Linked DNA regions of Homo sapiens: all the other regions are linked to region 1. Evidence: promoter capture Hi-C in 16 types of primary human blood cells and fetal thymus (Javierre and others, 2016). All regions are on one chromosome and are shown on one strand. Each heading gives the region's core, a stretch centred on a gene start or on the middle of the fragment in contact. The rest is flanking DNA. Distances are from core to core; before and after follow the strand shown.

Evidence for each region. The method cuts DNA at HindIII sites, captures the fragments that hold promoters and counts their contacts. A CHiCAGO score of 5 or more calls a contact.
Region 2: a fragment that was not itself captured here is called in contact with the fragment with the promoter of BPNT2 in region 1 in 1 of 17 cell types (non-activated CD4 T cells); the score reaches 12.7 in non-activated CD4 T cells.
Region 3: a fragment that was not itself captured here is called in contact with the fragment with the promoter of BPNT2 in region 1 in 1 of 17 cell types (activated CD4 T cells); the score reaches 7.1 in activated CD4 T cells.

What each region holds. Positions count from the first base shown.
Region 1 is chr8:56,992,509-56,995,284 of GRCh38, forward strand. It overlaps BPNT2 (3'(2'), 5'-bisphosphate nucleotidase 2), which reads right to left and starts at 1,359. Exons shown (of 5, transcript NM_017813.5): 1 at 691-1,359. The coding sequence starts at 1,077. RefSeq lists a silencer at 916-1,475. The HindIII fragment of the contact is 2,693 bases long and covers 1-1,716 here.
Region 2 is chr8:61,720,785-61,723,560 of GRCh38, forward strand. No RefSeq gene overlaps it. Among named protein-coding and RNA genes, the nearest start is that of MIR4470, 7.4 kb to the left of the region's middle. RefSeq lists enhancers at 438-1,034, 828-2,027. The HindIII fragment of the contact is 8,516 bases long and covers 1-2,776 here.
Region 3 is chr8:52,713,469-52,716,244 of GRCh38, forward strand. RB1CC1 (RB1 inducible coiled-coil 1) reads right to left here and starts at 967. Exons shown (of 24, transcript NM_014781.5): 1 at 607-967. RefSeq lists silencers at 422-891, 922-1,091 and enhancers at 1,152-1,461, 1,482-1,531. The HindIII fragment of the contact is 3,580 bases long and covers 1-2,776 here.

The DNA.
Region 1 (2,776 bases), core at 109-2,608:
CCAAAGAAAAGCCAAATGTTATTTAATTCTTATTCTCTGGAGTAAATATGGATCTTTAATCAAGGGCCAGGTAGGACCAACAGCTGGTATATTTCTAAGTACCTCCTTAAAGGGCCCGCAAACTATAAACTTTAGAGCGTCCTGACAAAAAGACAGCGAAATGAGCATACTCATCCCCCACCCCCCCACCCCGACTCCCGCGAGCGCACACACGCACACACAAATGCCCCGCACACTAACAGCTCTGCAACAAGACTCGGTCTTTCAGCTGGCTACTGGCAGGCCACCCAGAAAATGTGTACTCCAGTTTCGACCCTTCTAGGGATGAAATCAAGGAAGGATAGAGAGTCTTGGTGGATTTTAGCCAACCCCTTAATTCTACAGAGGAGCCTGAAGCTGCGGGTGCAATTAACTTTGTCAGCCTTTTCGTTTCAAGGCCTTCTGATCCCAGGTACACACGGCGCACACCCGACCCAGGACGAGCCAAAAGGGCACGGGCCCTGAGTCAGACTACGTGCAACCTCACCCAGCTCCTCTGCTGTCTGTCTGACCTTGTGCACGTTAACTTCTGCGTCTCAATTTCCACATCTACAAAATGGAACCAGAAGCTCCACATCCCATACTGTTAAGAGTCGACGGGCCGAGACGCGCTACCCGGCTCGAGTGGGCGCTCCGCCCGTGGGCTCCCACCTGGACGCTGGGGAAGGCGGTCTTGAGCAGGTAGAACATCTTGCGGTTGGACAGCACGTCGCCGCTGGTCATCTTGTCCTCGGCTCCCTCGCGCGTCTTCCCCTTGGACTTCTCGTGGAGGACGTTGCTCTCGCGGACGCGCCTCACCTCGTCGCCGCCGCGGACTGCGGCCAGCACTGACACAGCCAGCATCTCGCGCAAGTCCACGGTGCCCCCATCGGCCGCGGCCGCGGGCCCCGCCGCGCCGCCGCCAGGCTCGCCGCCCAGGCCGAAGAGGCTGAAGCGGCCGGCCAAGAAGCCCGAGTAGAGGTGGTAGAGCACGCCGAGCCCCAGCAGGCAAAACACTGCCACCCCCAGTGGGGAAAGGCGGATGCCCATGGGGGCCATGGCGTGGGAAGCCGGGCGCTCCGGGCTGCGGCTCTCACAGGCCTCCAGCGCCCGCCGCCGCCGCCGCCGCAGCCGCCGCGCTCCGGGCCAGGCGCCGCGCGGGCTACACTGGCGCCCGCTCCCCGGCCCCGGTGCGCCCCATCACTCCCTCCCAGGAAAGGCCGAGTTGCGCCGCGAAGACCACCAACGCCGCCCCGCGCGCCTGACTCGCCAGGCAGCGCGCTCTAGGTTCTTCCGCCGGCCGGCTGGTCCGACTTCCACGTTAGCCTACGGCCGCGAGGTGAAAGGGGAGCGTGGGTGTGTATCCGGGTTACGCGACGGGGCGGGGCGAGGGCGAGGGCGAGGGGCGGGGAGAGCTGGGCACCTCCCCTTGGGGCGGGGCGGGGCGGGACAGGAGGCGCTGGACTGAGCTGCCTTCCTTGGTCTGGGTGGGAAGGTATTCCTGGAAGTGGCGAGCAGCAATCCGCACAGGACAGTGTGCTGTGCTGAGTGCCTTGTGGGTGTTTAAATTAAATATCCCATTGTACGACTATGGCTGGCTGTAATAAACCCACAGTAACAGTCTAGTCTTCTCATCACTCTCAGATTATTGAGGAATGGAGGAAAACACAATAAACCATTTTAAAAGATTGATTTGCAAGCTTTTTTAGCCAGCGGGGGTGTAGACAGCCTGTACCTTTAAGTCGCTTCTCCGCGCTCTTCCCGGCAGGACGGGGAACTGGGCGGTGAGGGGAAGAATTGTACTTGGCTCTTCATTCTGTTGACATCTTTGTCGTGCCCTAAATGCTTATGTGTGTATAGAGTTTCTCTCCTCCACCTGCCAGAATAAACCATCCTCGAAGCAGCTGAAAAACATGCCTTGATCCGGGTTTTTCATAATGAAAGAAAGCAAACCAGGCTTCTCTCATTTCCAAGGGTACTCGAGCCTGGCTCTCCTACCAGAGCTTAAGAAGAGGAATTGCTTGACAGAGTCCACTTAAAATAGAGGTTATCCGGAGATGGTCAGTCTAGAACATGTAATCTTTGAGTCAGCGTAGGCTCTCGAAGTATTTTGACAGAAATAACTACCTTCTACTATAACACCGATCTTAGCTAGAATGATAGTGAATACTTTATAAGTATTCATGAGTTTATCTTTAATCTTAAAAGTGAATATTAAGATGTATAGTATTGTTCTTAAATGTTAAAATATCTATATAAATCAACTTAAAATGTAGCCTGTTTTACTGTTCATAGCAAAACAGCATTGGTTTTAAGTGGACTTTAGAATTAACCACCTGAAAAACTGCAAGTATACCAAACTTCTAAACATCCATTGCTAAGCAAGTCATGTAGAGCCTGACCTTTACCGCTTACTTAGAGTTCAGGGCATCCCTAGAATTTGCATGTGATTATACACATACAACAAAAGCACTGCCAGATTATACACATACAACAAAAGCACTGTGATTTCCCTGCCAGAATCACAGCACAAAATCAAGTACAAATACAAATCAGTGAAAGAACAATCCCTAGAGTATTGACAGCACCAGAACTTAAAGAACTAGCATTGCCTTTCTTGTCAGCTTTTGAGAGTAACTTTGCAATGAAGCAAAGCTGCTTTCAAATATCTAAAAGTGAATGTCACAGAGTAATTCTCAAAACCCATCCCAGGGATAAAGATAAACATCAGGGTTGAAATATAAAGGTTTAAGTTAAA
Region 2 (2,776 bases), core at 179-2,678, 4.7 Mb after region 1:
CCGAAAAGGATTATTTTCTTAAAAATAGGTAGAGATAGCCCATTTATCATTTATCCCATCATACAAATGCAGGCAGCCGTGAATAGCTGAAGTAAGAAATCAAAAAGCAAGCATAGGAAGAAAATGAACATTGTATGGATCTGTGCAGTAATCACTTAGGGAATATGGTAGCTTGACGTAGATAAAGAACTACATTTAAGGAATACCTACTTAAAATGTGAAACCTAACCAATGTTAAACAGATAGGCTGCCAACTCTCTGCAATTATGATAGCTTCACAAAATCGATGTGACTTCAAATCAGAACAGCATAAGACAGAGAAGATCATCTATGAATGACATAAAACTAGGAGGGGAGACAGCAGAAAAAAAAAGATGTGTTCCATTAGCTAAGTTTGACTGGGTCTTTTTGTTGTTTTCTATTTCCAAGTTAGGAGAGGTTGGATCTAATGCCAGAATTATGGTCAATCTTATTTGTAGTTGGTTGGACATGTGTGCATGAACAATAAGAACTTGGTAAATTTCACATAAGTTGTTGTACACTGTCAGTTTATATTTCATCTAATCCTTAAAAAAAGGAAGTTAAGTCTTGAGTTAAAAGGATCATTTCAAGTATTAAAGATCTCCAAGTGGACTCATTAGGCTCAAATTCAGGTCTGCTCAAATTCAAGGTTAGACTCAAATTAGACTCAAATTCAAGGTTCTGCTTACTGAGAAAGAGCAGACATTAAAAACAGCAAATCTCACTGAATGATGCTTATTCAAGTCTAATTCCTGCTTGCGCATGCAGGCTGACTCATAACACAGGCGGTCATAGGGGAGGAGCGGTCATCACTAAGCACTACTATGTGCTCCTCATGCCTCATCAACCTTTGCCGCCAAGCACCAAGGAAAGGTGTGTGGGATGCCTCTGCCCCCTGCCCCTTCTGCTCTTTTCTAATGGCTTTTCTCCTTCAAACTGCCTTTGATGGAAACCTCATTTGACACATGTTGGGCACAAAGAAAAGGAGAGAATTCAGAGTCACCTGTAGGTCTCTTACCCTCTGGCCATTTTTCTCTGACCTGTCATCAATGAAGGCCTGGGAGATACTGTGGACTCAGAATTAAAACATTTTCCTTGGTTGAGGCTAAAAGGTGGGTTAAAAGTCCTGTAATTCTTGAGAAGAATCCCCACCAATCAACAGAAAATCCTCCTTCCTCCTGTCCCCACTCTCAGGACTCCCAGGGAAAATGCAAGTTGTTGGGGTAGAAAGATGGCATGTTCAGCATGACTGGCAAAAATTTGGCCTGCCTCTGGCTCTGATCCTGCAGAATAACAATTCTGTAATAAGTAAGGCACCAAGCCAGAGATATTGGCCAAAGGAATTTACAACTGGGAGTAGGGGGTGGGGTGACATTACCAATAGGCAACAGTCCAAGGCCTGCAAAGGACGCTGTACTGACAGAATTCCATCTCTCTCTGACCCACTGTTTTCTGCAAGGCAAGCACAGCAACCATTTCAGAAGCCCTCACTCCAGACTGGGCATACCTCTTTTCAGTTATTCTAGCAGGAGTGGAGAAGAGGTTCTTGCAGTTGCTACCATCTGCAGGTAGTAATCAGAATTTAAGATAGTTAAGGAGAGAATTGCTATATGGCAGTTGTACCTGACAGCAATAACATAACTTAAGCATACCTTGAGAATAACCCTATGATCTAAAAAGAATGTGTGTTCAGAGTTCCAAACTAAGGAATCTGGGAGTGGCCAACCTGAAAATTCATTTCTTATCTATGAGCAAAATCTAAACCTCTAGCCCATTCTGTGGAAGGCAGGCTGTAGAGGGGATGGAGGCCCTTTGTTTTGGGTTAAATGAAGGTTGCCAAGTAGAGGTTGCTAGGGGGAGGGTACTAAGTGAAAATGCTATATAAACTACTTGCTTTTTTATAAGCAGTTGTTGTTCTCCTGCCCAGGGCACTGCCAGTGGACCCCTTGTATTAAGTCCTCTTAATAAACCCTATGTCTTGTTTGCCGGCTCCAGTTCCCTTCTTCGGCCTTTGAACCTGGTGCCTTCCCTACTGAAGTTAATAGGGGGCCAGCATGACAACCTCATGTTACTCCTTCTGTTCCCCTCCCAGCCTTACAGGGCCTACCACATTGTCAGCTGGTCCTTGGGCCAGTGGTGGGTAATGTAACGATCCTTTGTGATACCTTCTCTGCAATATTCCCTGCACCGAAAAGATTACCAGTCTCCAAAGCCGTGATTCTGTGGTTGCTCTGAACACTCTCCAACTGTTTTCTGAATGGCCAAAAGCTGGAACAATAACCAAAAGATGGAAGTGCCATTTCCCCAACTTATGAGGTAATAGTCTCATGGCAGTGACTGATAGCTGGCTTCCCCGCACTGTCCCTGACTCTTCCTAGGCTTTCTTCCACATATTCTTACTTCCTTATTGCCAACTCATCCCCCTCAGAAGTCCAAATGTAATTAGAACTGTCAAGAAGGATTCCAGAGTTCCTCGCTTTATCCTGTGCATCTTCGGGGCCACTGCCACTGTCAATACGTTCCTTCTAAAGGGACAGGGGGCAGAGCTACAGGGACATGGCACTTTCACTCCAACTCAACCTCTGTCACCCCGATGAGCTCTCCCCATGCTCGGGAATCTTGGGGTCCAAGGCCTCTCTCTTCTCCATCTCCTTGTTCCAGTTTATAAATTAGATTTGCTCCCAATTTCTTAATTCATGAAGTTTCCTCTGCCTAACCATTTTCAAGGAAACTGAATATTTGTGTTTATCTGTAA
Region 3 (2,776 bases), core at 157-2,656, 4.3 Mb before region 1:
TATCCGTGGGGCGGGCGCAGGCTGAGTCATTCCTAGGAGTAACTTTATACCGATCCTCGCACTCTGGGGTCGGGACAAAGACATCATCTCTCCGTTCCTCCCATTCGGTGAGCTTCGTTCGGCCTCGGCCAAACTCCACTCTCCCGTTTCTCGAGTCCAACACAGAATTAAGGGCTGATCCCTGGCAGCGATGAGCACAAGTCAAGATGCGTCTTGGGAGGTTCGGACGTCCCTCGCCCTCGGCCACTCCGGCAACTAGGCCGGGTACTAAGCGGCAGCGCAGAGGGAGGGATCCCAAGGCTCCGGCCGAGGAAGCCGCAGGCAGCCCCGCAGCACGAGTCCGACCCACACCTCCGGCAGCCTAGTGGAGCATCGACTCGAACCGCTTTTGTCTCCACAGGGGCTGTCGCGCCGGGAAAGCGGCCAGTGGGCAACACCTGCCGGGGCGGGAGGCGCCGGGGCCCTCCCGTGCACACACCTGCGCGTGGGCCGGGCTCAGGCCGACCGGAACCCTGGACCATGCGACCCCGGCCCACCGTGCCAGGGCCCGCCGCGCGACCGCTGTGCCAGATGGGGGAAGGGGACGCGGGCGGCGGCGACACTTACCCGGCAACGCCTCCTCCTTCGCCGGCGGCAGCAGCAGAGCCAGCGACCCCCGGCACCATCTTCCGCCGCCGCCTAGTCCTCGGCAGCGGTTACCAACCGCCCATTCGGCACCGCTAAGCCGACACAACCGCCGGCGTCCCGGGCGCCCGCCCGCCGCGGCCCCGAACTCTAGGAGGCAGGGAGGGGTCCGGGCGGACAAGGACGCGAGCAGGCCCCTCGGCTCTGGGTCTGGGGCCGGGGGACAGAAGGCCGCGGCCTGTCAGAGCCGAGGGGCCCAGGCGACTGGGGGATTCTGAGGCAACGCCGAGGGCTCGGCAGGGCCGCGGACACCGCCGCGGCTTGGTTTGTTATTGTCGACTCCGTCTCTTCCTCCGCGGCGCATGCCGGGAAACGGCCTGCCGGGGGAGGGGCGCGCCTGGAGGCGCAGAGAGGCGTCTACGCAGGTCCGGAAGTCGGCAGCCTGCCGGGAAGGGGGCGGCCCCGCCTCCGGCTCTCCGGCCGGCAGGTTGGCTGTCCTGGCCTGACCCTGGGAGACTCCGCTGGGGCCGCCTGTTATGGTGCTAGCTGCCGTCCCGGTGCGTACTTTCCCAAGGTGAATTTGACCTTCTTTGCGACAGCTAGGCCCTGACTAAGGTCGACCCACCAAACACTGGATCGTCCCCAGGCGAAAGAGAGCTTGTTCCCCTCAGCCTGTCGCGGAGGAGCGGAGCCAATCGAGGGTCTGGTGTCCCCGTCGCCTCTCCAGGGGCAACCTGCGGACTAGGCCAAGGTCTGTAACAGGATAACGTACCAGCGCCTGGCCCAGGCGTTCCTGCCGCCACCTCCCCGCATATCCGGACCGCCGGGACTGCACGCAGCTGGCAAGCGTCCCCCTGTTAACTCTGCAAGGGTGGGGCGGCACCATTTCTCAGACCAGGTAAGGCAAGAAAACATGCAAGAGAGAAGAGAGGGAAGCCTAGGCCAATCGGAATGAAAATGTAAACGCCACAACCACGTTTTCAGCTTTACAAATACTGAATCTTGTAGTGGGTCTAGTGGGTTAGGGGTTAGCATGAGCACCCTAATGGTTGGGAGACAGTTTCAGGGGACTCTTGCATTTGTGAAGATGATCAGTCACAGGCAATGACTTGAAGCCACGAGGCTTGAATATTAAAATCTGATGAGCAGATGTTACACGTAGAATAATTACATAATAGTTCTCAAATTCCTGTTATATCCAGGAATATCTGGTATGAGTGAAAACTTGGAGGTGCCTTCTCTAAAGTCATCAGGAATTCTGAGTTGTGTTTGTAAAAATAGGAGGCACAAGAGGGCACCAAACTGAACAAAATGTTAGGTGGAAACTGAAAAACGTTGGTTAGCATGAACAATTTCAGTTTTCAGTCACACTGACCAGTATCTGTAAGTTAGGATTGAGATGGGCTTGTTTTATTTATTTACTTTTAAATTTGTGCTGCTACATATCCCAAACAAATGTGGTCTTTATCATCACTGGCAAGCCATTTTACTTATTGGTTAAGCTGGAATTTTATTACACCACCCCAGCAAGATAGAGGAGAAAAGCGAAAATTAAGTAGTAAATGGTTATTATGCCTTAAGGGAAGGTGTGAACTGGCAAGACAAAAGAGCCAAATTTAGTAGTAAAGCATAGTCATCAGCACACAGAAAATAAGTGGTGAGGAGGAGTTTGGCCAGAAAATTGGCTAAGAAAAATGGCAGTATGACCAAGAATGAAAAGAAAAAGAAAGAAAAGAAAAACTGCAGTATGAGGCCTGTAAAGAACGTATTGGTACTTGCACTTCCTCTTATTAGTGACATTCATTATTACAAATATAACCCAATTTAGAATGTAAAAATCTTGCTGGAGCTCGGTGCAGTGGCTCACACCTGGAATCCCAGCACTTATGGGAGGCCGAGGCAGGAGGATTGCTTGAGCCCAGGAGTTGGAGACCAGCCTGGGCAACGTAGTGAAACCCCTTCTCTACAAAAAATACAAAAATTAGCTGGGCGTGGTGATGCACACCTGTGGTCCCAGTTACTCAGAAGGCTGAGGTGGGAGAATCAGTTGAGCCCAGGAGGTCGAGGCTGCAGTGAACCATCATGGCACCACTGCACTCCTAGCCTGGACAACAGATTGTTGCCCTGTCTGAAAAATAAAAAAAAATTTCTG